Linked DNA regions of Homo sapiens: regions 1, 3, 4, 5 and 6 are each linked to region 2. The links are contacts of gene promoters, found by promoter capture Hi-C in blood cells and fetal thymus (Javierre and others, 2016). All regions are on one chromosome and are shown on one strand. The core of a region is centred on a gene start or on the middle of the fragment in contact, and the rest is flanking DNA. Distances in the headings are between cores, read along the strand shown. Region 1 has its middle 2.5 kb from the start of CD52. Region 2 holds the start of ZNF593 (zinc finger protein 593). Region 3 overlaps ZNF683 (zinc finger protein 683). Region 4 has its middle 3.4 kb from the start of ZNF683. Region 5 overlaps EXTL1 (exostosin like glycosyltransferase 1). Region 6 has its middle 17 kb from the start of LIN28A.

What was found. The method cuts DNA at HindIII sites, captures the fragments that hold promoters and counts their contacts. A CHiCAGO score of 5 or more calls a contact.
Region 1: a contact is called between a fragment that was not itself captured here and the fragment with the promoter of ZNF593 in region 2, in 2 of 17 cell types (endothelial precursors and monocytes). The highest score is 7.2, in endothelial precursors.
Region 3: a fragment that was not itself captured here is called in contact with the fragment with the promoter of ZNF593 in region 2 in 10 of 17 cell types (M0 macrophages, M2 macrophages, monocytes and 7 more); the score reaches 14.9 in M0 macrophages.
Region 4: a contact is called between a fragment that was not itself captured here and the fragment with the promoter of ZNF593 in region 2, in 7 of 17 cell types (M0 macrophages, M2 macrophages, M1 macrophages and 4 more). The highest score is 13.9, in M0 macrophages.
Region 5: a fragment that was not itself captured here is called in contact with the fragment with the promoter of ZNF593 in region 2 in 1 of 17 cell types (erythroblasts); the score reaches 6.0 in erythroblasts.
Region 6: a contact is called between a fragment that was not itself captured here and the fragment with the promoter of ZNF593 in region 2, in 8 of 17 cell types (M2 macrophages, M0 macrophages, M1 macrophages and 5 more). The highest score is 18.2, in M2 macrophages.

Annotation. Positions count from the first base shown.
Region 1 is chr1:26,313,394-26,317,570 of GRCh38, reverse strand. It overlaps a transcript of UBXN11 not described here. Among named protein-coding and RNA genes, the nearest start is that of CD52, 2.5 kb to the left of the region's middle. The HindIII fragment of the contact is 2,240 bases long and covers 136-2,375 here.
Region 2 is chr1:26,166,933-26,171,157 of GRCh38, reverse strand. ZNF593 (zinc finger protein 593) reads right to left here and starts at 1,250. Exons shown (of 3, transcript NM_015871.5): 1 at 975-1,250; 2 at 678-740; 3 at 285-583. The coding sequence starts at 1,174. The coding sequence ends at 442. C1orf232 (chromosome 1 open reading frame 230) reads left to right here and starts at 2,195. Exons shown (of 4, transcript NM_001364669.2): 1 at 2,195-2,742. The coding sequence starts at 2,659. ZNF593OS (ZNF593 opposite strand) reads left to right here. Exons shown (of 4, transcript NM_001395468.1): 3 at 1-2; 4 at 560-1,637. RefSeq lists an enhancer at 1,381-1,480 and a silencer at 2,714-2,869. The HindIII fragment of the contact is 4,459 bases long and covers 1-2,450 here.
Region 3 is chr1:26,357,213-26,361,822 of GRCh38, reverse strand. It overlaps ZNF683 (zinc finger protein 683), which reads left to right. Exons shown (of 6, transcript NM_001114759.3): 6 at 1-189. The coding sequence ends at 172. Among named protein-coding and RNA genes, the nearest start is that of CRYBG2, 5.4 kb to the right of the region's middle. RefSeq lists an enhancer at 1-152 and a silencer at 2,771-3,065. The HindIII fragment of the contact is 3,222 bases long and covers 1-2,906 here.
Region 4 is chr1:26,374,101-26,378,157 of GRCh38, reverse strand. It overlaps a transcript of ZNF683 not described here. Among named protein-coding and RNA genes, the nearest start is that of ZNF683, 3.4 kb to the right of the region's middle. RefSeq lists a cis regulatory region at 1-120. The HindIII fragment of the contact is 2,591 bases long and covers 2-2,592 here.
Region 5 is chr1:26,026,080-26,030,614 of GRCh38, reverse strand. It overlaps EXTL1 (exostosin like glycosyltransferase 1), which reads right to left. Exons shown (of 11, transcript NM_004455.3): 2 at 1,329-1,422; 3 at 908-1,015; 4 at 20-139. Among named protein-coding and RNA genes, the nearest start is that of EXTL1, 6.6 kb to the right of the region's middle. RefSeq lists an enhancer at 704-1,569. The HindIII fragment of the contact is 8,483 bases long and covers 1-4,535 here.
Region 6 is chr1:26,391,739-26,396,032 of GRCh38, reverse strand. No RefSeq gene overlaps it. Among named protein-coding and RNA genes, the nearest start is that of LIN28A, 17 kb to the left of the region's middle. The HindIII fragment of the contact is 2,015 bases long and covers 271-2,285 here.

The DNA.
Region 1 (4,177 bases), core at 6-2,505, 150 kb before region 2:
TAGCAGATATTCCGTAAATGAGTTTGTTGTTTAAAGAAGATTGGGGCAGGGTATAGGAGCTGAAGGAGAAGGGCTGGGATAGATTTATGTTTCAAGGGAAGGTTGTAGATGGGCTGCAGGTTCTGAATGAAAGCTTGGGAAATGTTTAGATTGTGGAAGGGTTGGTGGATTTCTGTGAAGGTGCTGGAGGTGAGGAATCGGGAAGCCTGGTTTCAGTTGGGCTTTCCCTCTCTAGGCCTCAGTTCCTCATTTCAAGGAACTGGGAAGACTGAAATAGATTATTTCTGAAGTTTGTTAAAACCTAGTGTTTTGTTTTGTTGTTGTTGGTTTTTTTGTTTTTTTTTTTAAACAGAGTTTTGCTCTGTGCACTGGCATGATCTCGGCTTACTGCAACCTCCACCTCCTGGGTTCAAGCAATTATCCTGCCTTGGCCTCCCGCATAGCTGGGACTACAGGTGTGTGCCACCATGCCTGGCTAATTTTTTGTATTTTTTTTTTTTTTTTAGCGGAGACTGGGTTTCACCATGTTGGCTAGGCTAGTCTCGAATGCCTGATCTCAAGTGATCCGCCTGCCTCGGCCTCCCAAAGTGCTGGGATTACAGGCATGAGCCACCGCGCCCAGCCAAGACCTAGAATTTTGTGATTTTGGTAGAGAAAGTAGCAAGCAGATGGGTTGTTTGTATTAGCTGAGGATGAATGGGAGGGGAGCGAGGGAAGGGACAAGTGGGTGACTAAGCTACAGTGGAAGGGGACTGGGGTGAGAGAGTGGCTGTGAGGGCCCAGGGAGGGGTGGGGGGATGAGAGGAATCCCACAGCTGCCTGGATAGTGCTCCATGCTTTATGCATTCCCTCACTTGATACCCTCTGTGGTGCCCTGCAGCAGGTGTTATGTTTATCCCCATTTGACTGGTGAAAAAACTGAGGCTTAGATGTTAAGTGACTTGCTAAGGTCGTAAATGGTGGAGCCAGTCTCATTTGACCTTGAATCCAGGTCTGTCTGAAGCCACAGCCATGTATGTAACCTCTGGGGCTGCCCTAGAATTCATCCATTAAGTCTTGATTCCCTGCCACTCCCTCCCCCTCCCCTACACAAACTCCCCCCAGGCCCCAGGAGTTGGTCACCACAACCCCAGCTCTGGCCCACTCTCCCTTCACACTCTCCCTTCCTTAGTCTACTTTAGGCCTCATTTACATGCTAGGTAGTAAAGGGAAAACTCCCCTCACTTCTCTTCTATTGTTTTGGGCCTTGTGTTGCAAGCCCAGGGGAGATCTGGCTGAGGCTGAGTCCAAAGAAAAAAACAGAGGCTGGGCATAGGGGCTACGCCTGTAATCCTAGCAGTTTGGGAGGCTGAGGCGGGCAGATAACTTGAGCACAGGAGTTTGAGACCACCCGGGCAACATAGGAAGGCCCCATCTCTCAAAAAAAAAAAAAAAAAAAAAAAAAATTAGCCGGGCATAGTGGCACAAACCTATAGTCTCAGCTACTTGGGGGCTGACGCAGGAGGATTGCTTGCACCTGGGAGGCCCAGGCTGCAATGAGCCATGATTGTGGCACTGCACTCCAGCCAGGGTGACAGAGCAAGACCCTGTCTCAAAAAAAAAAAAAAAAAGGCCAGGAAACAGTGGCTCACGCCTGTAATCCCAGCATTTTGGGAGGCCGAGGTGGGTGGATCACCTGAGGTCAGGAGTTCTAGACCAGCCTGGCCAACATGGTGAAACCCTGTCTCTACTGAAAATACAGAAATTAGCCAGGTGTGCTGGCACATGCCTGTAATCCCAGCTACTCGGGAGGCTGAGGCAGGAGAATCACTTGAACCCGGGAGAAGGAGGTTGCAGTGAGCCGAGATCGTGCCATTGCACTCCAGCCTGAGCGACAAGAGAAAAACTCCATTTCAAAAAAAGAGAAGAGAAGAAAAGAAGAACTGAGAGTCAAAGCTGATGAGAGAAAGCCAGGAAGTGGAGAGGGAGGGGCGGGGAGGGAGAGAAGAGGGAGGAGTCCCCAGCCATCCATCACCCTCTTTCCCCATCCCTGCCCTTTCACCCAGAGGTCTCTCCTCACCCTTGACTCAAGTTCTCAGCTGTCTTTGGTGTGCCTGTGGGGGTGAGTGATTCTGGGGTTCATGAGAGTCAGGGAGGTGTCCTGTGCCAGAAGGGCACCAGCCCAGAAGACAGGATACCCGTGTTGAAGTCTGAGATTACTCTGCTGAAAATGAGCTCCATCACACTGTGCAATCTTCTCCCCTCTTACAAAGAGGCAGCCAGACAGGACGAGCCTGGGGCCAGCCGTGTTATAGTTTCCCATGCTGGAGATGCATGCGAGGATACTAAATGCCAGACTCTTATTTGTAAACATTTTCTTGCAAACCTCAGAAGCTTCATTTTCACCTCCTGACACCCTGAGGAGTATCTTCTACAGTCCATGTATTTCCTCTGCAAGGAAAGCCCTTCTCCAATTATTTTACCTGGCAAACTCTTTTTTTTTCCCCTCGAGTCAGGTTCTTGCCGTTGTCACCCAGGCTGGAGTACAAGTGGTGCAATCATAGCTCACTGTAACCTCGAACTCCTGGGCTCAAGCAATCCTCCCGCCTCATCCTCCTAAGTACCTGGGACTACAGGTGCATGCCACCATGCCCAGCTAATTTTTGGGGTGGTGGAGGGTGGAGTTTTGCTATGTTGCCCAGACTGCAAACTCTTCTTTATTCTTCAAGATTTAGCTTAGAAGCCCCTTCCCCAGGGAAACTTTCCACTTTCCCTAGGAAACTCAAAGTTCCTAAATGTTCGAAGGGCCCTTTCTGTTGACCTCTGTTCTAAAGATTGTGTCTACCAAGAATATGGTCTGTCCCTTGTGGGTTGGGACTAGATTTTGTCACTTCTCTTACTCAGCGAAGCACAGAACATGGCACAGTGTAGGTGTCAGGGACTGCCGGAAGAATGAGTGCGTGTATTCATCTAGATCTATTCCCACCTCCGAGCCTAGTAGTCCTGCATTTATTCATCCAGTAAATATTTACTATGGGGCAACAGTAAAGTCAGTACTGAAAAGTTACCAATGCAGAAAAGAAATAAGGGACTGAGAGAAGCAAGCCCTTTATATGGAGCTGCTTTCCTCCTAAAAGTATGCCACTTGCAGAGGGGACAGCTGAGAAACTGAGCTGAGCTTTCTCATCTTCACATACTTACAAATGTATGGGAGAAAAACTATAGTTCTAGATTCTCTAAGAAAGGGGAGCCCTGACAAACTCCCCCCACCTAGGCTTTGGGTTGGACCACGGGGAGTGAGAGTAAACAGGAAACAACAGCCCAACCCTCAAAGAAATTGAAGACAACATGACCAAAAAGCAGAAACAGATAATAGAAAGTTATACAAAAGATCCAGATAATGGAATAATCAATCAAATTTTCAAATAACTATGCTTACTTAAAGACATTTTCCTCTTCTGCCCTCTGAGCAGCAGGACAAGATTGAGAACTAGAAATTATAGTAAAGAACCGGCCGGGCGCGGTGGCTAACACCTGTAATCCCAGAACTTTGAGAGGCCGAGGCGAGTCGATCACAAGGTCAGGAGATCGAGACCATCCTGGCTAACAAAGTGAAACCCCATCTCTACTAAAAATACAAAAACTTAGCCAGGCATGGTGGCGGGCACCTGTAGTCCCAGCTACTCGGGAGGCTGAGGTAGGAGAATGGCATGAACCTGGAAGGCAGAGCTTGTGGTGAGCCGAGATCGTGCCACTGCACTCCAGCCTGGGCGATGGAGCAAGACTAAGTCTCAAAAAAAAAAAAAAAAGAAAAAAAATTATAGTAAAGAACCAAATGGAAATTCTAGAACTGAGAAATATGGTAATAAAAATTAGGAACTCAGTGGATAGGTTTAACATCAGATTGGGCACAACTGAAGAGAAAATTAGTGAAGTGAAGTAAAGATCGTAAGAAAGTATTATTAGAGCAGAATGTGTTTATTGGGTGCCTGCTGTGTACCAGGTACTGAACTAGGCACTGGGAATACAACAGTGACATAAAGACATGGTCCCTGCTATTATGGAGCTGATATTTGAGTGGGGGAAGACTAATAAAAAACAATGGTAATTTCAGATGTTCACAAATGGCATCAGGAAATCAAGGGGGTAATGTGAGAAGAAGAAGAAGTGAAATGTGGGGAGGATATATTCTAGGTCA
Region 2 (4,225 bases), core at 1-2,500:
GGGTAGGTGACTCGGGAGGGGGGTGCAATCTCAGAAGCCTTCTTTTCTGGGGATCAGTCTCTGTCAGAAGCAGGACAGAGTAATCTGATCCCACTCCCGCCACCCCACACTGCATCAGGCCTCCATCTGGGTGCTCCAGTTCAGATGCTAGGACCTCAGAGGGAAGGCAGAGATAGACCAAGTGGGGAGTAGACACCCTAGGCCTGGTGTACAGAAAGTAGTAGAGAAGCCCTTCCAGGGCAGGAGTTTGAGACAGCGGCCTGGAAGTTAGAGTTGGAGGCAAGTTCTCTTTGTCCAGTTCCTTTATTTGGGGCAGGGCACCAAGAAGAGGCCCTCCGCTCCCCAAACCCAGAGGCAAAAGGGGTTGGCACGCTCCCTCCCAGCCTAGTCCTTGCGTCACTGTCCATGGGCAATTCCTCTGCCCTGCATCTTCAGGCCATGTCAGGTAGAGGTATCCATCTCAGGGACCTCAGTGGACACTTCCGTGGGCACTGCCAGCCGCCTGGGGGGCACATAGGATCCCATACCCGCTGCCCTCTCCGCCTCTTCCTGACTGTAGGGCTCGACGCTCAGCTGCTTCAGCCTGGGAGAAAGAAAAACAGGAGTTGGGAGCTGACCAGGTGAGAGCCCTATCTGCTGAGCACCCATCCATCAATCCTCTCCTTACTCCTTCATACCTTTTCTTGTGGTCTTTGGATCGGAAGTGGGTCTTCAGGTTGGTGGAATCGATGAAGTACCTCCTGTAGGAATGGAAGTGAGAAGGAGAGTGAGGAGGTGATAGTCTCCCAAGTGCACCTATCTCCCTAGCCCTAGCTTGTCCCTGACGCCAGGATCCGGGTCTGAGAAACGGGAGGCGGGCGGACCCACGGGTCCCAAGAGAGAAGACTCTGCGCTGCCTGGGGCTTCAACTTCACATCTCCCGGCCGGTACCGCGGACCCTCCTCCGCCCCAGGCCGGGCTCGTCCGGGACTCACGCGCAGGCCAGACAGCGGTGCAGACCGCCCCCTGGCAGGTCGGGGTCGAACTCGGCGTTTGGGTCGGGCTGGGGTCGTGCGGATCCCTGAGGCCGCAGCTCGCGGTGAATCTCATCCAAGTCCGGCCGCCGCCGCTTCGCCTTCATCTGCCGGGCTAGAGAGTGCGCTCGGTGCGCGCCTGTCCGGCGGGAGCGACCCATGGCCAGAAACAGCCCGGCCGGCCAAGGGGCCAGGAGCAGGGCAGGGAGCACACGTGTGAGCACTTCCGGGCCGATCAGCTACGTCAGGCCACGCCGGGGGGCTAGGCAGGCTCGGCCGGACCGCCTCTGATGACGTCACTCTCGGCCAGCGGCTCGAGCGCCGCCAGGCGGCCGTCGACGTCAGTGACCGAGCTCAGGACGGGCTCCCAGAAGTGTGCCCACTGAAGGGCATGGCCCCGCGGGCCCTCGCTGGGGAGGCGCGGGGTGGTGCGTGCGCCTGGGGGTTTCGGGGCCGTCTTGCTGCCCTGCTCTTCCTGGCCTGGTCCAACCAGTATCAGTGCCAACCTGTACTCCTGTCATCCCTTCCTGTTTCCCAGACCTTGGACTCCGCGGTGGGGGTGGGATGCTTTATCTCTGGAAAGCACTGATAAATGTCTGTGTCATGAATAAATTAGTAAATGACTGAGAGTGAATAAGTTTGGAATCCCAGCCCCACCAGGGCTTCCCGAGATAATCTCCAGTCCCTGAAAAAGCCCTCACTTCTCCGGGCTCCCGTTATTCCCTTGAGTCTCCATCCTCTCTCTGACCCCAACCAAATCCGTGAAGGGTGTTCCTCCCCAGAGAGTGCAGTCCTCAGGCATCCAGACTCCAGAGGGATCAGTTCCTCTCACAAGTACTCATAGAAGGACCTCTCCATCTTTGCCTCCTTTCTCTAAGCCCTGGGCTCCCAGAGGTGGGCTGGCAGCAAAGGCCTAGGTGTTGCATGCTCAGAGTGGCTAGAGGGCCTTTCCCCATTCACAGGAGCCTGGTGCCTCCCAGGCTGGCCAGAGCCAACTCAGCTGGAAGGGGCCAGAGGAGCTTAGCAATAATTCAGGGGCTCCAGCTCTTTGGAGTCTGTTGCCAGGAAACAAGGAGACAGGCACGTGTATCCCTGGGGAGAGGAATCAGTTTCCAGCCCAGACAAAGGAGTGAAATGTAAGCCCAAGGTGCCCACTGGGGGCCTGCGGACCTTCCTGCTCCAGTTCATTGAGGCTAAGTAGGGACACAGGGTGGAGCCCTGCTGAGGACACAACTAGTATGACTACAGTCACAGGGGCTCCAGTGTGGGTCCCAGACCTCAGGATTTTGTGAATGGAAGAAGATTTTCCTGGAGGCATGCTAAGAGATGAACAACTCAAGTACTCCTAGGCCCAGGAAGAAAGCCTCTCTAGAGACAAATGACTTCATTATTCTTGGCCAATATGGGTCAAGACAAGGGGCTAAGGTGGCAGAAGCTTGTTCCATCCCCCACTCCCCGACTCCTTTGGATCAGGTTCACCTCCTGGGCACTGTGCCAGCTGGGGAGGCTGGTGCATCTTTAATGAAGTCACTGGATCCCTCGGACAGGCTCTTGGCCTCACCAAGTTCCTAGAGCCAGACTCACTGGTATCCACTGAGCCACCACCTTCCTGTGCTTGCGTGCCAGGCCCCTTCCCCCTGCAGCCATGAACCAGGCCTTCTGGAAAACCTACAAGTCCAAAGTGCTACAGACCCTGAGTGGGGAATCTGAAGAAGACCTGGCAGAGGAGGTGGGTGCCATCCATGCATGGTGGGTGGAGCATGTGCAGAGGGGCAGCAGGAATGAGCAGTATGAAGTGGGGCACAGGATAGGCTTGGAGGTGGGGGGGCCACATTTGTGCAGATGCCACATTCAGGGATGGTAAAAACCATGGTGCAGCATCAGAAAGCCAGGACATTCAAGAAAACTGAGGAAGAAAAGACTTAGGGACCATGGGAGGAGTGGCCACTGTCTCCAAAGATCTCGAGGCTGCCACATGGAAGAGATTCTTCTAGGACCAGTGGGCAGTAGGCACACGGGCACACTTAGCTGGACACAACTTTCTAATGGGAGCAGAAGTAGGAGTGATGTAGTGAGCCCCATGTTACTAGAGGTAGGGGGAGTGGCGCCTGTACTAGAAAGGTCACTGCAGCAGCATCAGATCAAAGCCATACTTAGACCATGCTTTGTTCTGACATTACAAAAAACAAGCAAACAAACAACAACAACAAAAAACAGGCTGGGCCGGGCACGGTGGCTCATGCCTGTAATCCTAGCACTTTGGGAGGCCGAGGTGGGTGGATTGCCTGAGCTCAGGAGTTCAAGACCAGCCTGGGCAACACGGTGAAACCCAGTCTCTATTAAAATACAAAAAAAAGTAGCCAGGCATGGCGGCGTGCACCTGTAATCCCAGCCACTTGGGAGGCTGAGGTAGGAGAATTGCTTGAGCCTGGGAGGCAGAGGTTGCAATGAGCTGAGATTGAGCCATTGCACTCCAGCCTGGGCGACAGAGCAAGACTCCATCTCAAAAACAAACAAACAGGCCAGGCGCAGTGGCTTCTGCCTGTAATACTAGCACTTTGGAAGGCCACGGAGGGTGGATCACCTGAGGTTAGGAGTTCGAGACCAGCCTGGCTAACATGGCGAAACCCTGCCTCTACTAAAAATACAAAAATTAGCTGGGCATGGTGGTGGGCACCTATAATCCCATCTACTCAGGGGGCTGAGGCAGGAGGATCACTTGAGCCCAGGATTTCGAGACCAGCCTGGGTGACATGGTGAAACCCTATCTCAACAAAAAAATACAAAATTAGACAGGCATGGTGGCACACACCTGTAGTCCCAGCTACTCAGGCTGAGGCGGGTGGATTGCTTGAGCCCAGGGAGGTCGAGGCTCCACTGCACTACAGCCTGTGTGACAGGTGAGACTTTGTCTCAAAACAACAACAGCAAAGTTTCTGAAACCAGGGACAGTCTTATGTCTGGAGGCTGTGATAAGTGGCAGTCACACAATCACACAAAATGTGGCAGAGGCAGGAATCGGTTCAGAGGGGCGGGGAATGGTTTGAATTCTTAAATGTCTGGAGAGGTTGGTGTCTAAGGCTGGGCTTGTGCAGAAATGTCAGTGGGTAACTGGTGTGATCAGTATCTGGGTGGAATCCCCAGTGAAAGTGTATGTGAAGGTGTGAACATTTTGGGTAGCAGTCTGCCTGCATGCCTCTGTGTAGACATTT
Region 3 (4,610 bases), core at 46-2,545, 190 kb before region 2:
TGCCCAATGGCACCAGGGGGCACTAGATCTTATGGCGGTGGCATCTGAGAAACACATGGGCTATGACATAGATGAGGTCAAAGTGTCCTCGACATCCCAGGGGAAAGCAAGAGCAGTGAGCCTGAGCAGTGCCGGGACTCCCCTGGTGATGGGGCAGGACCAGAACAATTAAAAATGTTTCTTCTGTCATGCTTTGAGGCTTCCTGAGCTTCAACAGTTTAGGTGTGGGGTGGGGGTAATGGGGGAAAGCCACTGTGTTTGCCAGACCTCACACTTCACCCGGGAGCAGGTCAGGGGACTCAGCCAGGAAGAGCCTGTGCTGCCTGTGTGTGCGGTGCTTGCCTGCAGCCATCTGCTTCAGCAAGGCTTGAGTTCCACTCCCCGTCTAGGACCAGGCTCTCCTCGTCTATTCACCGACGGACAGTCCAGCCCTCCAGCGCGCTGCAGGGTGCCGACCGTGCTGTCCAGCCTGGGCACATTGTCCTGTTCCCAACACCTGTGCAGAGGGTCCCGCTGCCCCCACTGCCTGGGTCTCACCGTTCCTATTGGCCACTTGCACCTCAGCCGGTACTCCCTGCATGGTCGTTGCGAGGTGGAGGGGGAGGGTGCCCCTCATTGTGGGTCTATTGAAGAAGGAGACTCGAGATATCAGGGTCCACTCACGACCCAGAAGCATGATGTCCTCTGTCAACCGGGTCTAGTTACCACAACACTCTGGGCTAACAGGGTGCCAGGCTCAGGGAAGGCGTGGAGGCTGCAGCCAGATAAGGGCTACAGGCAGAGAAGAACTGGCAGAGACCCTGGGGAGCTGAGGCCTGATGGCCCTTCTCCCTGTAGGCCCGGAGGATCCTCTGAAATGTACAAGGTGCTCCCCATCCCCACTCGAGTCAGAGAGGCCGCGCCAGGCGGAAAAGGGTATTGCCTGGGAGGCAGGAGGCCCAGGTTAGGATCACAATCGATGATAGTTGTTATTAAATAAGAGCGATTTGCGGACAGAGTGGGGTTCTCTGGCCAACTTCCAGGAGATGGCACCGTCCGCACCCCGTGGATTTCCGTGCGGCTTCCCCACCGCGGTGGTGACGGGATTCCCGCTCCCGGCCGTAAGTGCTTCCCATAGGGAGGAGCAAGCCCCACTGACCGTGGCAGAACAATGGCAGGGTGGGCTTCAGCCCCACCAGTAGCTAAGGTCCCGGTTCCAAGCCCACCCGTGTCACACTTTGGGCCCCGCGCGGGACGCCAACCACTCGCGTTAGACCCTCCCATTCGGCAAGACCACGCCCATTCCGAACCATCCACCCCTCCCCGCAACCGCCCCCCTTGCCCAGCTCCTCCTGCTCCTGGGGGATCCCCCTCGCTCGCTCAGCCCCGCCTCCCCGCCTCTGTTCGCCCCAGGCCACTTTCCCTGTCCGGCCTCATGCAGGTCTTGCTCTCGGGCTAGCTCACCTGGGGCTGCGGGGGGCCCTGGCGCCTCCAGGGGCTTAAAGATGTAGCGCGGACCGGGCGGAGAACCACGCCCCCGGGGTGGGGGCAAGGGCTCTTGCCGAACGTCTGGGGTCTGCGGTCCGAGGAGAACAATGAGGTTGGGGGTCCTGGAGAGTGCCCCAGGGCACGGGCAGCATCTGGATCGGGTCACCGCCCGCATGGGCTGCGGGTGGGGCCGCTGTTTGCTAGGGGGGCGGGCCGGAGGAGGCATTTCTCCGCAAATGCAGCGGATGCGGGTAGCCCCGGCGGTCAGGTGCTCCGACGGCCGGAGCCCCGGGTCTTTCACTCGCCATGGCCGAGCGGTGCGGAGGCCCGGGGGCCTGCCTGGCCCACCTTTTGGCTGGGTTAGGGGTCCGGAGGGAGCACAGAGGGAAAGAGATCTCGGAGGCCACATCCCGGGAGAGGTGAGGAGAGATGGAGAAAGGCCGCGTGGGGAGCCTCTGGGCCCTAGACCGTGTGTGTGTGTGTGTGTGTGTGTGTGTGTGTGTGTGAGAGAGAGAGAGAGAGAGAGAGAGAGAGTAGTGATCAAATAAGCGTGTATGTGTATCTCTCGAAGCATAAAAATATATGTGTCTTGGGAGTCCGAGGCGGGCGGATCACGAGGTCAAGAGATTGAGACCATCCTGGCCAAACAACATGGTGAAACCCCGCCTCTACTAAAAATACAAAAATTAGCTGGGTGTGGTGGCGCACTCCTGTAGTCCCAGCTACTCCGGAGGCAGAGGCAGGAGAACCGCTTGAGCCCGGGAGGCAGAGGTTGCAGTGAGCCGAGATCGAGCCACCGCACTCCAGCCTGGCGACAGAGCGAGACACCGTCTCCAAAAAAAAGAAGAAGAAGAAGAAGAAAAAAATATATATGTATACACACACACACACGTGTGTGTGTGTGTGTGTGTGTGAATGTACCACGATTTTGGATGTGAATGTGGAATGGTCCCTGTGCTCTTTTAAAACTTTACAACTTATGTGGACAGTTTCCTAAGTCAGGCAGGTAGCCTGCAGACGACAGAGACAGTTTAAGGGCAAAGGCAGTAGTTCTTCCCTCCCCTATGGACTTTGATTCTCGCATCACAGCTGATTTCTTCATATCCCTTTGTCATGAACCTGACAGGTTCCGTCTGAGACTGTACTGCATTTGCACTTAGATGCCACGGAGAGGTTTTCCCCTGTCGTCCCCACCCCTGGAGATAGCTCTAGATTGTAATAACAATAAGCCTTTATTTGCCACATGCTTCATACTTCACCTGGATTATCTCACGTAATCCTCACAGCAGCCCTATGAAGCAGGTATTCCACATGATTCAGATAAGGAAATGGAGGTTCAGAGAGGTGACGTCACCTGCCCAAAGCCACACAGCTGGGGCGTGGTGTAGCTGGGACACAGGCTTTGGCAGTCTGACTTCAGAGCCCACATTTCTGAAGCTTTGTTGCCTGCAGGGACTGCCAGACTGCAAGACCCGGCTCCTAGCTGTAGGTGCCACTGGTTATATGACCCTGAGCAGATTGCTTCACCTCTCTGAGCCCGTGCACTGGTAGCTGATGTCTGAGGGGTTGTGTGTGTGTGTGTTAGAGTGTTGTGGTTGATCAAATAAGTGTGTATGAGTATCTTGAAGCATAAAAATATGTGTATCAATGTACCACGATTTTGGATGTTAATGTGGAATGCTCCCTGTGCTCTTATATCCTTTATGTATTTACTTATTTGTTTTTTAAGATGGAATCTTGCTCTGTTGCCCAGGATGGAGTGCAGTGGCACTATCGCATCTCACTGCAGCCTTGACCTCCCCAGGCTCAGGTGATCCTCCCACCTCAGCCTTCTGAGTAGCTGGGATTACAGGCACATGCCACCACGCCGGGCTGATTTTTTGTAGAGACAAGGTTTCACCATGTTCCCCAGGCTGATCTCGAACTCTTGGACTCAAGCAGTCTGCCCACCTCAGCCTCCCAAAGTGCCAGGATTACAGGTGTGAGCCACTGCACCTGGCTCTCTTTTCTTTTGATTTTTTTAAATTTTTTTTTAATAGAATCAGGGTCTTGCTCTGTCACCCAGGCTGGAATGCAGTGTCACTATCATAGGACACTGCATCCTCAAACTCCTCCTGCCTCAGCCTCCCAAGTAGCTAGGAACATGCCAACATGTCCACCCAATCTTTTTATTTTTTGTAGAGTTGGAATTTGGCTATGTTGCTCAGCCTGGTCTCAAACTCCTGAGCTCTACTGATTTGGCTTGGCCTCCCATCGTGCTGGGATTATGGGTTTGAGCTACCAGACCCAGTCCCTTGTGCTCTTTTTTTGTTTTGCTTTGTTTTGTTTTGTTTCATTTTTGAGATGGGAGTCTCACTCTGTTGCCCAGGCTGGGGTGCAGTGGCATGATCTCGGCTCACTGCAACCTCTGCCTCCCAGGTTCAAGTGATCCTCCTGCCTCAGCCTCCTGAGTAGCTGGGACTACAAGCACGTGCCTCCACGCCCAGCTAATTTTTGTATTTTTAGTAGAGACAGGGTTTCACCATATTGACCAGGCTGATCTCGAACTCTTGATCTTAAGTGATCCGCCCGCCTCGGCCTCCCAAAGTGCTGGGATTACAGGCGTGAGCCACCGCGCCTGGCCCCTTGTGCTCTTTTAAAACTTTAAAATGTTTTAAACAGAAGGAAAAACATCCTGTGGAAGGCCAAGTCAAAAGGCAGGGAAGGCAGTATTGAGAATCCGAGAGCCCCACAGCTCCCCGGTCCTACATCCGTGAAGAGCATAGGGTGTGCTCTCACGCATGGGTGTTTATGTGTCTGCCCAGTTACCCGGCAATTTGTTCTGATCTTATCATGGCACAGGTGTCTTCAGCCTGCGCCAGGGGGACTGGGGGTGTGGTGGGGGCAAAATGAGGGCAGGGATTTGTGCTGCTCTGTCACCCTAAAGAGAGAGGAGAGGAAGGTCCAGTCACCCTATGCCTGGAAGCCTGGGTGCCCTGGGGTGTCCACACCCTGCCAGTGCCCTGCCCGCCCCCGCCTGGAAGACACGCCCTCCCCCTTTACCCTGTCTGGCAGAAACCTGCCCTATAGGCCCAGGCGGCACTGCCCCTCCCTCTCTGGACTTGGAGGTGCAAATGAGTCAGGGGTGGGGAGGGCCAGGAGGG
Region 4 (4,057 bases), core at 48-2,547, 210 kb before region 2:
TTCTTGATAGCCGGAATGTAATTCCAAGGTCTGAGTCATATTTCTATGGGCTGTATTCCCAGAAAATAGTCCAATGCCTGACACATAGCTGGTAATTAATAAATATGTGAATTACTTTGGGAGGCTGTTTGAGGGCAGGAGTTTGAGACTAGCCTGGTCAGCACAGCCAGACCCTGTCTCTACCAAAATACAACAAGAAAGAAAGAAAGAAAGAAAGAAAGAAAGAAAGAAAGAAAGAAAGAAAGAAAGAAAGAAAGGAAGGAAGAAAGAAAAGGCAAATAAATATGTGAATGAATGACGTTCTTGCAGGGTACCAGATGCTAATTCTGCAGCTCGTTTCAAGATGGCCTCTGTTTGTCTTAATTTTTCTGGGAGCCCCTTCTACCAAACATATTTGTGGCACTTTTTACTTCTTCAAATGCCTGGAAAGTCTTCCCTAAGCTCTCCCTCACCTCTGGGACTTACAACCTCAACTTGGGTCATGTGTTTCTTTTAAAATTGTATATATTTAAGATCTACAACATGATGTTTTGATACACATATGCTCAGTAAAGTGATTACTACAGTCAAGCAATTTAACACATCCATCACCTCACAGTTACCTTTTGTGTGTGTGTGCGGTAAAAGTACCTAAAATTACTTTTAGCAAATGTCTACTATATAATATTACTAACTATAATCCTCATGCTGTATGTTACAGCTCTAGACTTATTCATTCTAAGTAACTGCAACTTTGTACCCTTTGACCTTCATCTCCCATTTCCCTTACACCCCAGGCCCCTGCCCCTGGTAAAGACCTTTCTACTCTCTGTTTCTATGCTTTCCACTTTGGGGTCATGTGGTGTTTTTTGGTTTTTTTTTTTTGAGACTGAGTTTTGCTCTTGTCTCCCAGGCTGGAGTGCAATGGCACGATCTCAGCTCACTGCAACCTCCGCCTCCTAGGTTCAAGCGATTCTCCTGCCTCAACCTCTCAAGTAGCTGGGATTACAGGCACCCACCACCATGCCCGGCTAATTTTCGTATTTTTAGTAGAGACAAAGTTTCACCATGTTGGCCAGGCTGGTCTTGAACTCCTGACCTCAGGTGATCCACCCGCCTCGGCCTCCCAAAGTGCTGGGATTACAGGCATGAGCCACGCCCAGCCAGGTCATCTGATCTTAAGTGAGTCATTTTCCTTATCTGAGTGTCAGTTTTCTTGCCTCTAAAATGGGAATAATGGCATTCATCTCCCAGAGTCACTCTGCTGATCCAGTGAGACAAAGCGTGTGGAATGGCTTTGCATGGTTCCTGGCATATAATGAGGGCTCCCATGCCAAGAGCTATTATTATTGTGGTGTGTGGATGGGGTAGGAGAAGACTGCATTGAATGAGAGCAATGATCCCCAACCAGGGAAGGGTCAATAAATAAAGCAAGAAAACTAAATGTAGTTAATCTCTCCAATTGTGCTGCCCAAATTTCGATCTTCCAAAATGGGTCAGGAATAACCATCAAAATTTTAACACTTTTAAGAAGCTGACTTGCAGATGCTTGCCTAACTAGGTAAAGGGTAATGTACAATATAGTCATCCACATTGGTCAAGTGCTTGCTTTGGGCCAGGCACCATCCTAAGGGCTTTACATGGATTATCTTGAGGAAACCTGGAAATAATTCTATGAGGCAAGTGCTATTATTATCTCCATTTGACAGATGAGGAAAGATGCACAGAGAGGTTAAGTGATTTGCCATAAGTTTACCCAGTTGGGATTAAATCCAGCAGAGCTCGTATTCTTAACCATTCCGCATACTGACTCTGTCTGGAGGTCTTTTCCAGCCTTGTGTAGAAAGGGGAAAATTGGATCCCACCCGTATGTCCACCAACAGGGGAAGGCTACATATTAAGCACAACCCTGCAATGGAACATTATATAGTCAGGAAAAAGCAGGAGGCAGATAGGTATGTTCAGGGCATGAAATGATGCCCACAATGGATTATTAGAAAACCCAGAAGAGACTGGGCATGGTGGCTCCCAAAGTGTAATCCAGCACTTTGGGAGGCCAAGGTGGGTGGATCACTTGAGGTCAGGAGTTTGAGACCAGCCTGGCCAATGTGGTGAAACCCCGTCTCTACTAAAAATACAAAAAAATTAACTGGGCTTGGTGGCGCATGCCTGTAGTCCCAGCTTGAACAGGAGAATTGCTTGAACCCAGGAGGCAGAGGTTGCTAGTGAGCCAAGATCACACCACTGTACTCCAACCTGGGAGGCAGAGTCAGATTCTGTCTCAAAAAAAAAAAAAAAGAAAAGAAAAGAAAAGAAAACCCGGAAGAGCAATGTGCATCAATATATTCCCATGTTTGTATAAAACACAATTTAGCCTTTCAGCCCCTATGCTCAGGCCCACTCCAACACTGTGGAGTGTACTTTATTTTCAATAAATCCCTTCATTTCTTCGTTGCTTTGTTTCTGCTTTTTGTCCAATTCTTTGTTCAAGATGCCAAGAACCTGGACACCCCCCACCAGTGACATATTTTGGCCAGCCAGCCCGGAGGAAGGGCCGCTCAGGGAAAGAGAGCCCAGAAACCTGGCATACCAGCAAAAGGAGGCCATCAAGCTTCAGATGATCATGCAACAAAGGCTCCAGCCAGTCCAGGTGAAGACACCACCCCTGGCCATCAAGAAGCTACCCTGCCTCCACTAGACAGAACAAGGTGAGGGTTCCATGATCCCCAATAAGTAGGGACTACGCCCCATGCCAGCATGAAGCAGTCCCAGGAAAAAGACCATCGGTCCCTCTGCCTCCCGTGAAGATTTACGGGGACCACAATCACATCTCTTAGCGGGGAGATGAGGCAGGAAAATAGGGGCTGGAGGCAGGAAACATAAGGCCAATTCACACTTCAGCTCTGACAGGAAATAGCTTCTCCCTGAGTACATGACATTGTAACTTTACTTCATTCTCTTCATTTACATAGGGCGTACCACAAGCAGAAGGTATTTAAACTCTCAAAAACTCTGTAATGGGGCCTTTGAGCCCCTATGCTCAGGCCTGCTCCCACACTGCAGAGTGTACTTTCATTTTCAATAAGTCACTTCATTCCTTAGGAAAAAAAAAAGCAATTAAAAAAATCAATTTACCTGTTTGTTGGTTCATAGAAAAATGTCTGGAAGGGTAAACACTAAACAATTCACATTGACCACTGGGAAATTGCGAAGGAGGAGGAGCTTCCATTTTTCGTTTTTACATTTTCTGTTGTTTGAAATGTTTACCACTAGTATGTATTATTTTGCAACTAACGAAAGGAAGAAGAAAGTGTGCAGTGAGCACCGGGAGCCCAAGGACCCAGCCCCTCCAGCTCTTGTCCCCTAATGTGGAGGCACCTCCTCTTCAGAGGCCTCCCGAATGTGCCCCTTGCACCTGGAGTCAGCTCCCTACTCCCCCTCTGTCCGCACTTCCCAAACCCACTCTGGTGATCATGGGCTTTCCTTGGCTTGGGTCTCTGGTCTGGGTCAAGGCATCTGCTCAGGTTCCTCAGTTAGAAGACCATGGTCCTCCCTCTGTGCTACCTCCCCAGGGCATGTGGGACAAAGTGACATCACATTTAGGCCTGTGACATCACAGGGCATGGATGACACAAGACAGATGATCTGGGAGATGACAGCAAGGAAGGGCTTGGCAGGCAGAGGCTTCTCCACGTGGGAACCTGAGGGAGTCTGTCCTCAGCCCACCTCCTGGGGCATTTCCTAGCCAAGCCAGGGAGCTTTCAGGATTGGAGACCTGGAAATCTCCAAGGCCATTTCCTTTTTTATTTTTTTCTAACAGAGAGGTTGTGCAAAGTGTTCTGAGAGCTGGGAGCAGAGTGTGATGCCAGGAGGGAGCACAGCTGGCAGATGGAAGCCAAAGGTGTGTGGGGAAGTGCCTTGGAGGGGAGGAAACTTCACTCGGTGCCCCTCACTTCCCTGTGATTCCCAGCAAGACAGCAGGGGAGGCGGGCTTGTGGCCTGGGGGTCTGAGAGGGCTCTTCCTTTTAGGGAGTAGAGTTTTGGTGAACTAAGCCCCTCCATTACGCTGAAGGATACT
Region 5 (4,535 bases), core at 76-2,575, 140 kb after region 2:
ATCAGGTGAGACCCCTCACCTCCAGAGTGGTATGGATGACCTTCTCCACTGAGGAGAAGTAGGCATCCCATAGAAACTGGGTCTGCTGACGCAGGGCGAGGACCCGTGCAGGGGACATCTCCTGGAGGGCAGCCAGGACCTGGAGCAGAGAGGGAGAAAAGTGCCAGGTAATAGAGCAATTTTGAGCCCAGGAGGTCGACGCTGCAGTGAGCCATATTCGTGCCACTGCACTCCAGCCTGAGCAACAGAGCAAGATCCTATCTCAAAAAAAAAAAAAAAAAAAAGAAGCATTCAGGGGTCACACAGAGTTGGGTCTGAATGCCACTTGGTAACCACGTGACTGTGGTTGAGCTATTTAACCTGAGTATTTGCTCATTAATTGCTTAGTACATTGTAGAGGCTCAATTAAAAAAATGGTAATTACTATTAACCCCCTCTGCCATTCTCAGGGGATTCAAGGCAGGTCACACATATATTTTTCAGAGCTGGACAAAATTAGTTTCATCAGATGGAAAAGTCGCCATGCGTTTTGCTTTCCCACTCCAGTCCCCATGGAGGCGCTCTGAGTTTGAATTTTTTTGTAGCCTTCCCCTAAATTGGTATTTAAGCAGTCACAGGCCATTGGAGCTGGGCCCATGGGGATTGTCTGGTCTAGCTCATCCTATTGTAGAGATGATAAAACTGAGGCTGGAAGAGGATCAGGACTTGCTCTCAGAACCCTTAGGAATCTCTAGCTCCATCAGATCCTCTGGGAGCCCCAGAGGGGAGACTTGGTGCTAGGAGAAATTCACCAGTATCCATAGAAGGCAGATAGGAATGAGGACTGAGGCCAGCCTCGATCCAGGATTCTAGGTCCCTCCCCTGTCCTGGGTCCAGTTCCCACCCTGTGGGCAGGGCTCTGAGCTACCTGAAGTGGGAGCCTCTCATCAGCTACGATGGCTGCCTTGGTCCAGTCGATGACCTCGGAGAAGGGCAGCTCCCAGCGGGGGCTGAGAAGCACTGGGATGCAGCCGGCCTGGGGGGCGGGGAGGTCACTGGGGAGCCCAGCCCCACCCTGCACATACTCACCCCCCGCCCAGTTCCAAGTCAGTAGCTGCTGCTGTTGGGGGCAAGGGGCAAAGAGGACAGGAACATGGGATTTTTCAGGGAGGGGAGGTTATGGTTGTTCTGCAGAGGGTGCAGTGAATGGGGACACAGGCATGCCTGAGTCCAGGAGTAAAGGAGCAGGCAGCTTACTGCCCCTTCTCATTGGCCTGGACCCAGAGTACCCTGCCAGCTCATGAGTGCTGGGGGACAGAGGATGGGTGATGCTCAAATTGGGGTTGTACCTGCAGGGCTTGGAGGAAGCGCGAGGCAGCCTCGGGACGGTGGCCAGAGATGAGGCAGAAGGTGGCATTGGGCAGCGTCTCCTGGCGCTGGGTCCTAAAGAGGCACATGGGGAGGTCCCACCACACATGAGCCTGGACAGTGACCTTCGCCCCCTGGGCTCCCTCAATGGGAGAACCCCACACCCCTGCACCCCACACCCACACTCCCAAATGTGTAAACCCACTCATGCATATGCACAGCCGCACACTGACGCACTAACACAAACACAAGCATCACACCAGCCACGCATCTGTGGTTGGACTAGGAGGCAGGAGCCCTGCATTCTAGCTCTGCCTCTGCCCTCAGTGGCCTTAGACACCTCCCTTGCCTTTCTCTGGCCTCAGTTTCCTCATCTGTAAAATGGGAGGCAGCGGACGCTGATGTTTCCGAGGCCCTGCCTGACTTAGACATGCACGTCTGCCCTCCCCCACTCGGCCACAGGCAGACTTTCAGCACCCCTTGCCTGCGTGGCCTCTGAGCCCAGCCCTCCCCGATGCTAAAAGCCAGGCCCGTGAAAGGCTCCTCTGTCATGAGGTGGGCTGGGCCCCCAGCCTGGAACCACACAGGAAACTGCTGCCCAGAGGTCCCCTGGCCCAGAGGACAGGCTCCCTCTGTTCCTCCCACCTACCCCCTCCACCACCCTAGCCCAGGGCCACACTCAGGCTGTGTGTGCCTGTGGGGGAGGGCAGGAGTCCCAGCCTCCTCAGAGCCAGCCTGGCAATTGTCCACCCAGGGGACCATTGCCTGCAACCCAGCCAGGGGAGGGATAAAGGGAGGGACCAGGACACAGGCCTGCTCAGTGTGGGACTCATGACTAGGGCCCAGAGGGTACTAGGACCCTCCTCAGTTACAGCCTGTTTGGCTCTGAGCCTGAACCTCCAAGAAGCAGACCTGGGAGTACTTAGGCAGCCTCGGGGCCATGCCCCATTGAACAGATGGGGAAACTGAGGCCCAGAGAGACCCAAGGACTGGCTCAGGGTCACAGATAGGGTTGAGTGGAGCTGGGACTAGAGCAGAGATTTGCCAGCTCCTGACCCTGAGTTATCTGAACCACCCCAGAGCTGCTGCTTTAGGGGTCTTCCAGGGGACCCCAGCCTTCTTTGTCCTCCCTCCATGCTTAAGTGTCCACCAGGCCCTCCTTGGAAGAAGCCACAAGTAAGCATCAGGACACCCTTCACCTCATGAAAAGCCACAGCAGAAGCCAACCAGGTACAGCCCCCTTCACCCTTAAGTCAACCTCTAATGAATTGAAAACCTCTAGGTTAAGGCTGAATCAACTGCACCACTGAGCCTTAACCTCCCTTGATCCTCTGTGCCTTTAAGATCCCTTCTCCCTCACGTTGGAGGGCCCCTCCCTGCCTTGTCAGCCTGAGGAAGTCCTCCTACTCATCTTTTTCTTCTGAGACAAGCTCTTGCTCTGTCACCCAGCCTGGAGTGCAGTGGTGCCATCACAGCTCACTGCAGCCTCAACTTCCCAGGATCAAGCAATTCTCCTGCCTCAGCCTCTGGAGTAGCTGGGACTACAGGCACGTGCTGGCTTTTTTTTTTTTTTTTTTTAGAGATGGGGTCTCTCTGTGTTGCCCAGGCTGTCTCAAACTCCTGGCCTCAAGTGATCCTCCTGCCTCAGTCTCCCAAAGTGTTGAGATTACAGACATGAGCCACCACACCTGGCCTTCTTCTACGCTGTCTTAATGTCTAAGCTGAAACATCACCTCCTCTGGGAAACCCTCCTTGATCTCTCCAGAGATGGCTTTCTCTACTCCCACCTCCCAGTGGACTGCAGTAGTAATGATCCAAGCTAACCTATATTGAGTATGTACTTTGATCCAGGTACTGTTCTAAGTGCTTTACAGGTATTAACTCAGTTCATTCTCACAGCACCTCTATGAGATAGGAGGGGAGGTATGCACTGTTATTATCTCATTTTACAGATGAGAAAACTGAAGCCCAAAGAGGTCACACAGCTCTTGAGTAGAGGAGCCAGGGAGGCAGCCGGTGCAGCCTCTCTCTGCTTAACAATGTGTGTCAAACAATTGACTTGCCTGTCTCTCTTACAAGGCTGAGCTCCTTGAGGATGGGGCTGTACCTCCCTCATCTCAGTATCCCTAGGGCCTAGCAGAGTGCTTGGTGGAGAATGGGAGCTCAGTGGGTGCTGCCGAATGCTCAGTGAGACACTAGGGAATAGATCTGGGACCAAGAGACCAGGTATCTGGGAGGTCAATTTCAGCAGAAATTCTAGTGATGGAGCTGGTTGAGCGTGCAGCCAGTGGGTGGTCTTTGGAGGTGGTGAGTTCCCCATCAGTAAAGGGAAATAAGTAGAGACTGGATGAGCACCTTTGGCGGGGAACAGGGAATGTGTTACAGAGGAAACTTGTGCATCTATGTGGTGACCACTGAAGAAGTCTTAGGCTTCTGTGACCATGTAAGGTACCTGCCATAGACTCAGGGCCTCAGTGCCCAAGGGTGGTCAGCGTGGCTGTGCCCATGGCCTCAGTGCTCTGCTGGGGCCTGGCCATAGGTAGGGCTGCATTGTGACTTCCATGTGCCCTACTAGGCACTTTGGCCTTCACAGTCTCTCCTGCCATAAAAAAAGAATATAGTTGATAACTGTGTTGGTATAAAAACAAGCAATATTATATATTAAAACATTTTCTGCTGGGCGCCGTGGCTCATGCCTGTAATCTCAGCACTTTGGGAGGCCGAGGCAGGCAGATCATTTGAAGTCAGGAGTTTGAGACCAGCCTGACCAACATGGTGAAACCCCATCTCTACTAAAAATACAAAAATTAGCTGGGTGTAGTGGTGCGTGCCTGTAATCCCAGCTACTTGGGAGGCTGAGGCAGGGGAATCGCTTGAACCCAGGAAGTGGAGGTCGCAGTGAGCCAAGATTGTGCCATTGCACTCCAGCCTGGGTGACAGAGAAAGACTTTGTCTCAAAAAAAAAAAAAATTTTTTTCTTCTACCTGAAAGTTCATTTTTAATTCTGCCTTTTTTTTTTTTTTTTGAAACAGAGTCTCTCTCACTCTGCTGCCCAGGCTGGAGTGCAGTGGCATGATCCCAGCTCACTCTAGCCTTGACACCCTGGGCTCAAGCGATCCTCTCACTTCAGCCTCCCAAGTAGCTGGGACTACAGGCTTGCACCACCACACCCAGCTAATGTTTGTAAT
Region 6 (4,294 bases), core at 29-2,528, 220 kb before region 2:
TCCCTTCCCTCTCCTTATCACTGGGTCCCTGTGGTTCAGCCATCGAGGAAGGATGACAGAAAGACAGATGCATGGAGCTGTCCATTTTCCGTTCCAGCCTCTCCTGAATGCAAGCAGCATCGTGAGGTTCTGAAAAGAGCCTCCACTCCTGTTCTATTAAAGGAGAGGGAATGGAACAAAGGGAATGGACATTCCAAGATCCTTGATTCCAAGACTCTCAAAGTCAAATAGACCTTGCAGATCAGCTGACCCTCTCCCATACTCCAAGCTTGACACCAGCCATTGTCCAGATCAGCTTGCAAACTTCCAGCAACAGGGAACTTACTGCTGTGAATGCCTTGCCCATCCACAGATAGTTGGGATTGTTAGAAAGTTCTTTCTTCTGCCTGTGTGCAGTGGTTCACACCTGTAATCCCAGCACTTTGAGAGGCCGTGGCAGGAGGATCGCCTGAGGTCAGGAATTCGAGACCAGCCTGGGCAACATGGTGAAACCCCATCTCTACTAAAAATACAAATAAATAAATAAATAAATAAATAAATAAATAAAAATAAAAATAAATAAAAATAAAAATAAAATTAGCCAAACGTGGTGGCTCATGCCTGTAATCCCAGCTACTGGGGAGGCCGAGGAAGGAGAATTGCTTGAACCTGGGAGGCGGAGGTTGCAGTGAGCCAAGATCGTGCCACTGCCCTCCAGCCTGGGCAACAGAGCGAGACTCCACCTCAAAAAATAAATAAATAAAAATAAGAAGTTATTTCTTCCATTGAATTCAACCTAGTCTCTATAGCTTCTATCCACTGGGGTCCTTAGAACAAGTCCCCTTCCTCTTTTGCAAAGACTCTGGGGTCATGTTTTATGTTCAAACTCCAGTCCTCATCTTCTCTAGTTTTGTGACCTAAGGTTTTTAAAGGCTCAATGTCTCAATCTTGGTTAATTTTCCACTGTTTTTCTGGAAGTTAGCCCAAAGCCAGATTTACCCAGCTTGATCCTCAGTGATCCACAGCTCTTTTCTAGTGTCTGTGTACTACTTTGTACAGTGCTTTTCAGACCACAAAGTATTTTCCCATTCATTATATCACTAGACCCTGGAAAACAAGGCGGCCAGAAAAAGAGGGAGATTAGGTGGGCACATTGTTATCGCATTTTTGCAGAGGAGGCAGATCTCTGCCCCCAGTACCAGTCTTACTGCCAACTGTACTCCTTGTCCTTCCCCTTCTCACTTCTGTCACAATGCACGCTCTAGGGCCTCCAATAGCTTGATTCTCTTTCTCCTTAGGGTTTCTCCATGATTACCCCTCTGCCTGAAGCACCATTTCCCTTACTTTCACTTTGCTGATCACTATTAATTCTCTTTTATTTTTATTTTTGAGACGGAGTCTTGCTCTGTCTCCTGGGCTGGTGGGCAGTGGCGCGATCACAGCTCACTGCAGCATCTGCCTCCTGGGTTCAAGCAATCCTCCCACCTCAGCCACCCAAGTAGCTGGGATTACAGGCATGTGCCACCACACCTGGCTAATTTTTGTATTTTTAGTAGAGATGGGGTTTCACCATGTTTGCCAGGCTGGTCTCAAACTCTTGATGTTGTGATCCGCCTGCCTCGGCCTCCCAAAGTGCTGGGATTACAGGCATGAGCCACTGTGCCTGGCCCTATTCTCTGTTTTTTTAATTAAAAACATATTTTTATAAAGATGAGGTCTCCTTATGTTGCCCAGGTTGGCCTTGAACTGCTGGCCTCAACCAATCCTCCTCCCTCCCAAAGCACTGGGATTATAGGTGTGAGCCATGGCTCCCAGTCCCTTCCCCATTTTTTTTTTTTTTTTTCAGTTTTTTTTGAGATGGAGTCTAGCTCTGTTGCCCAGGCTGGAGTGTGGTGGTGTGATACCAGCTCACTGCAAACTCTGCCTCCTGGATTCAAGCAATTCTCCTGCCTCAGTCTCCCAAGTAGCTGGGATTACAGGCGCCTGCCACCATGACTGGCTAATTTTTGTATTTTTAGTAGACATGAGGTTTCACCATGTTGGTCAGGCTGGTCTCGAACTCCTGACCTCAGGTGATCCCCCCCCGCCTCGGCCTCCCAAAATTGCTGGGATTACAGGTGTGAGTCCCAGCCCCTGGCCCCCTTTCCCATTTTTTATAGTGCTCTACACATCTGTGACAGAGCATTTGTCCCACTGTATTATATATATTTGCTTATTTGTCTTTCTTTCCCACTGACCACTACAATGTAAACCCCATAAGCCAGGGACTATGTTTTGTTCATTGTGTCAGTATGCAGCACAAAGCTTGGGATAACGTAATTGCTTATTAAATGTTTGTTGAATTAATAAATGCATGACTTGCCCCAGTTTCCACAGTTAATAATGGCCAAAATTAGAATGCAGATTTTATTTCCAAGTCCAAGAATTTGTTTTTACCATCTCCCGAACCTAACCTAGTTCTTACTCCTAACCCCTGCTGTCAGGCCTGTCCCCTCTAATTCCTCAGAATCTTAGGTCACTTATCCGGAAAGGAACTTAGAGCTCATCTGATTCAATCCCTTCATTTATAGATAAGGGAACTAAGACTCATAGAAGGTAAATGCTTTGTCAAGGCTACACAGCAAAAATTGTTGCCATCCTTTCTTCCTGACAACCAGATTGGTGTTTTTTTTAATGGGATTCACCAAAGAGTTCATGGACTCCCAGGGCTTTGTCTTGGGGACGGGGGTAGTAGTAAATAAATAATTCCATCTAAGGCTCTCCTTTTATACTCCCTAGACACCCCAAAGGCTAGACACCCAAGAGTCTATTCTGAGACATCCCATCAGGCAGAAATTTCAAGCAAGACAGGATAGAGGGGTGTGGGAGTGTGTGTGTGTGTGTGTGTGTATAGGATCATGGGGCACTAAGGATGCAGACGTGAAAACTGGGCTGCAGCACAGCCCCTCTGTTGTGGGGTCCCTCGAGTCTCCCACCATGGCAACACCACTCCCTCTGCCCCTGAAGCTGACCTTTGGGGCCAGAGATCAATAACTTGGACTTTGGCTTCAGTCCCCTTTGGCCCCCCAGTGACCATAGGCTGCCCAGAAGAGCTAGTGGGACTCAGAGTCATTAAGTAACTGTCACTCTTCCCCAGCCCCATTTTGGGGCATGGCTGGGGGAGGGGCCAGGGATGGGAACTATATGGAGAGTCACAGGTGTGGTCTGGTTCTTCCCATCCTCACTGGAAGAGAAGTGACCTCTATCTCTCTTTGACCCCCACCCACTTCTTTTTACCCTCGGCCAAGAGGCTTCCTCCTGCCCTCTCTACTCCTCCATGTCCTTAGCACTGAGCCCTGACTCCCCTCACAGAACCCCCGTGCTCCTCACCATGTTCCTCTTAGTCCAATCTTTTATGAACCCCCTCCTCCCATTGTGCTCACACTTTATATAAACTGGAGGTATTTTACCCTTTTGTCAGCCAAGACAGTAGTCAGAGGCCGGGTGCGGTGGCTCACTCCTATAATTCCAGCACTTTGGGAGGCGGAGGCAGGTGGATCACCAGAGGTCAGGAGTTCGAGACCAGTCTGGCTACCATGGTGAAACCCCATCTCTACTAAAAATACAAAAAATTTGCCAGGCTTGGTGGCAGGCACCTGTAATCCCAGCTATTTGGGAGACTGAGGCAGGAGAATCACTTGAGCCCGGGAGGTGGAGGTGGCAGTGAGCCAAGATTGCCCCATTGCACTCTAGCCTTGGCAACAAGAGCAAGACTACATCTCAAAAAAAAAAAAAAAAAAAGACAGTAGTCAGGAATTTCTCATTCACCTTTTTCTAAATACCTCATCCCAGGTATCTTCTCACCAACTATTCTCCTCCAGAGAAATCCACTGTTCTGCCATACTTTTAGCGGGATCCTGTTTCAGAAACACACTCACCTACCCCACCACCACCCCACCAACTTTCCTTGCTCTTCACCCACCAGTCCTCGTCCACCTCCACCCCAGTGTCCCAGCCAATCACTACTGATTGATTGATTTGGGAGGAGGGGGAAAGAGGATCGATGGAGGACTCTGGGCCTATTCTTATTCAAAGCAAAAGGTTTAAGAGGGGGTGGATATTCATTGTGGAGAGGATGCAGAAATCGCTGTGGCGCTCCACAGCCTTGCTGATGTGGTCTGCAGCGTGGGGGAGGGTGGGTCAGGCCACTGGGGGTGGGGACGGATGCTCTGAAGGCTGGGAGGACAGTGGTGTGGGGGCTGATAGAGGTAAGAAGAAGGCATGCATCAGCAGTCTGGGCATAAGGTGAGGTTCCCCAACTCTGCCCCTCAGGGAG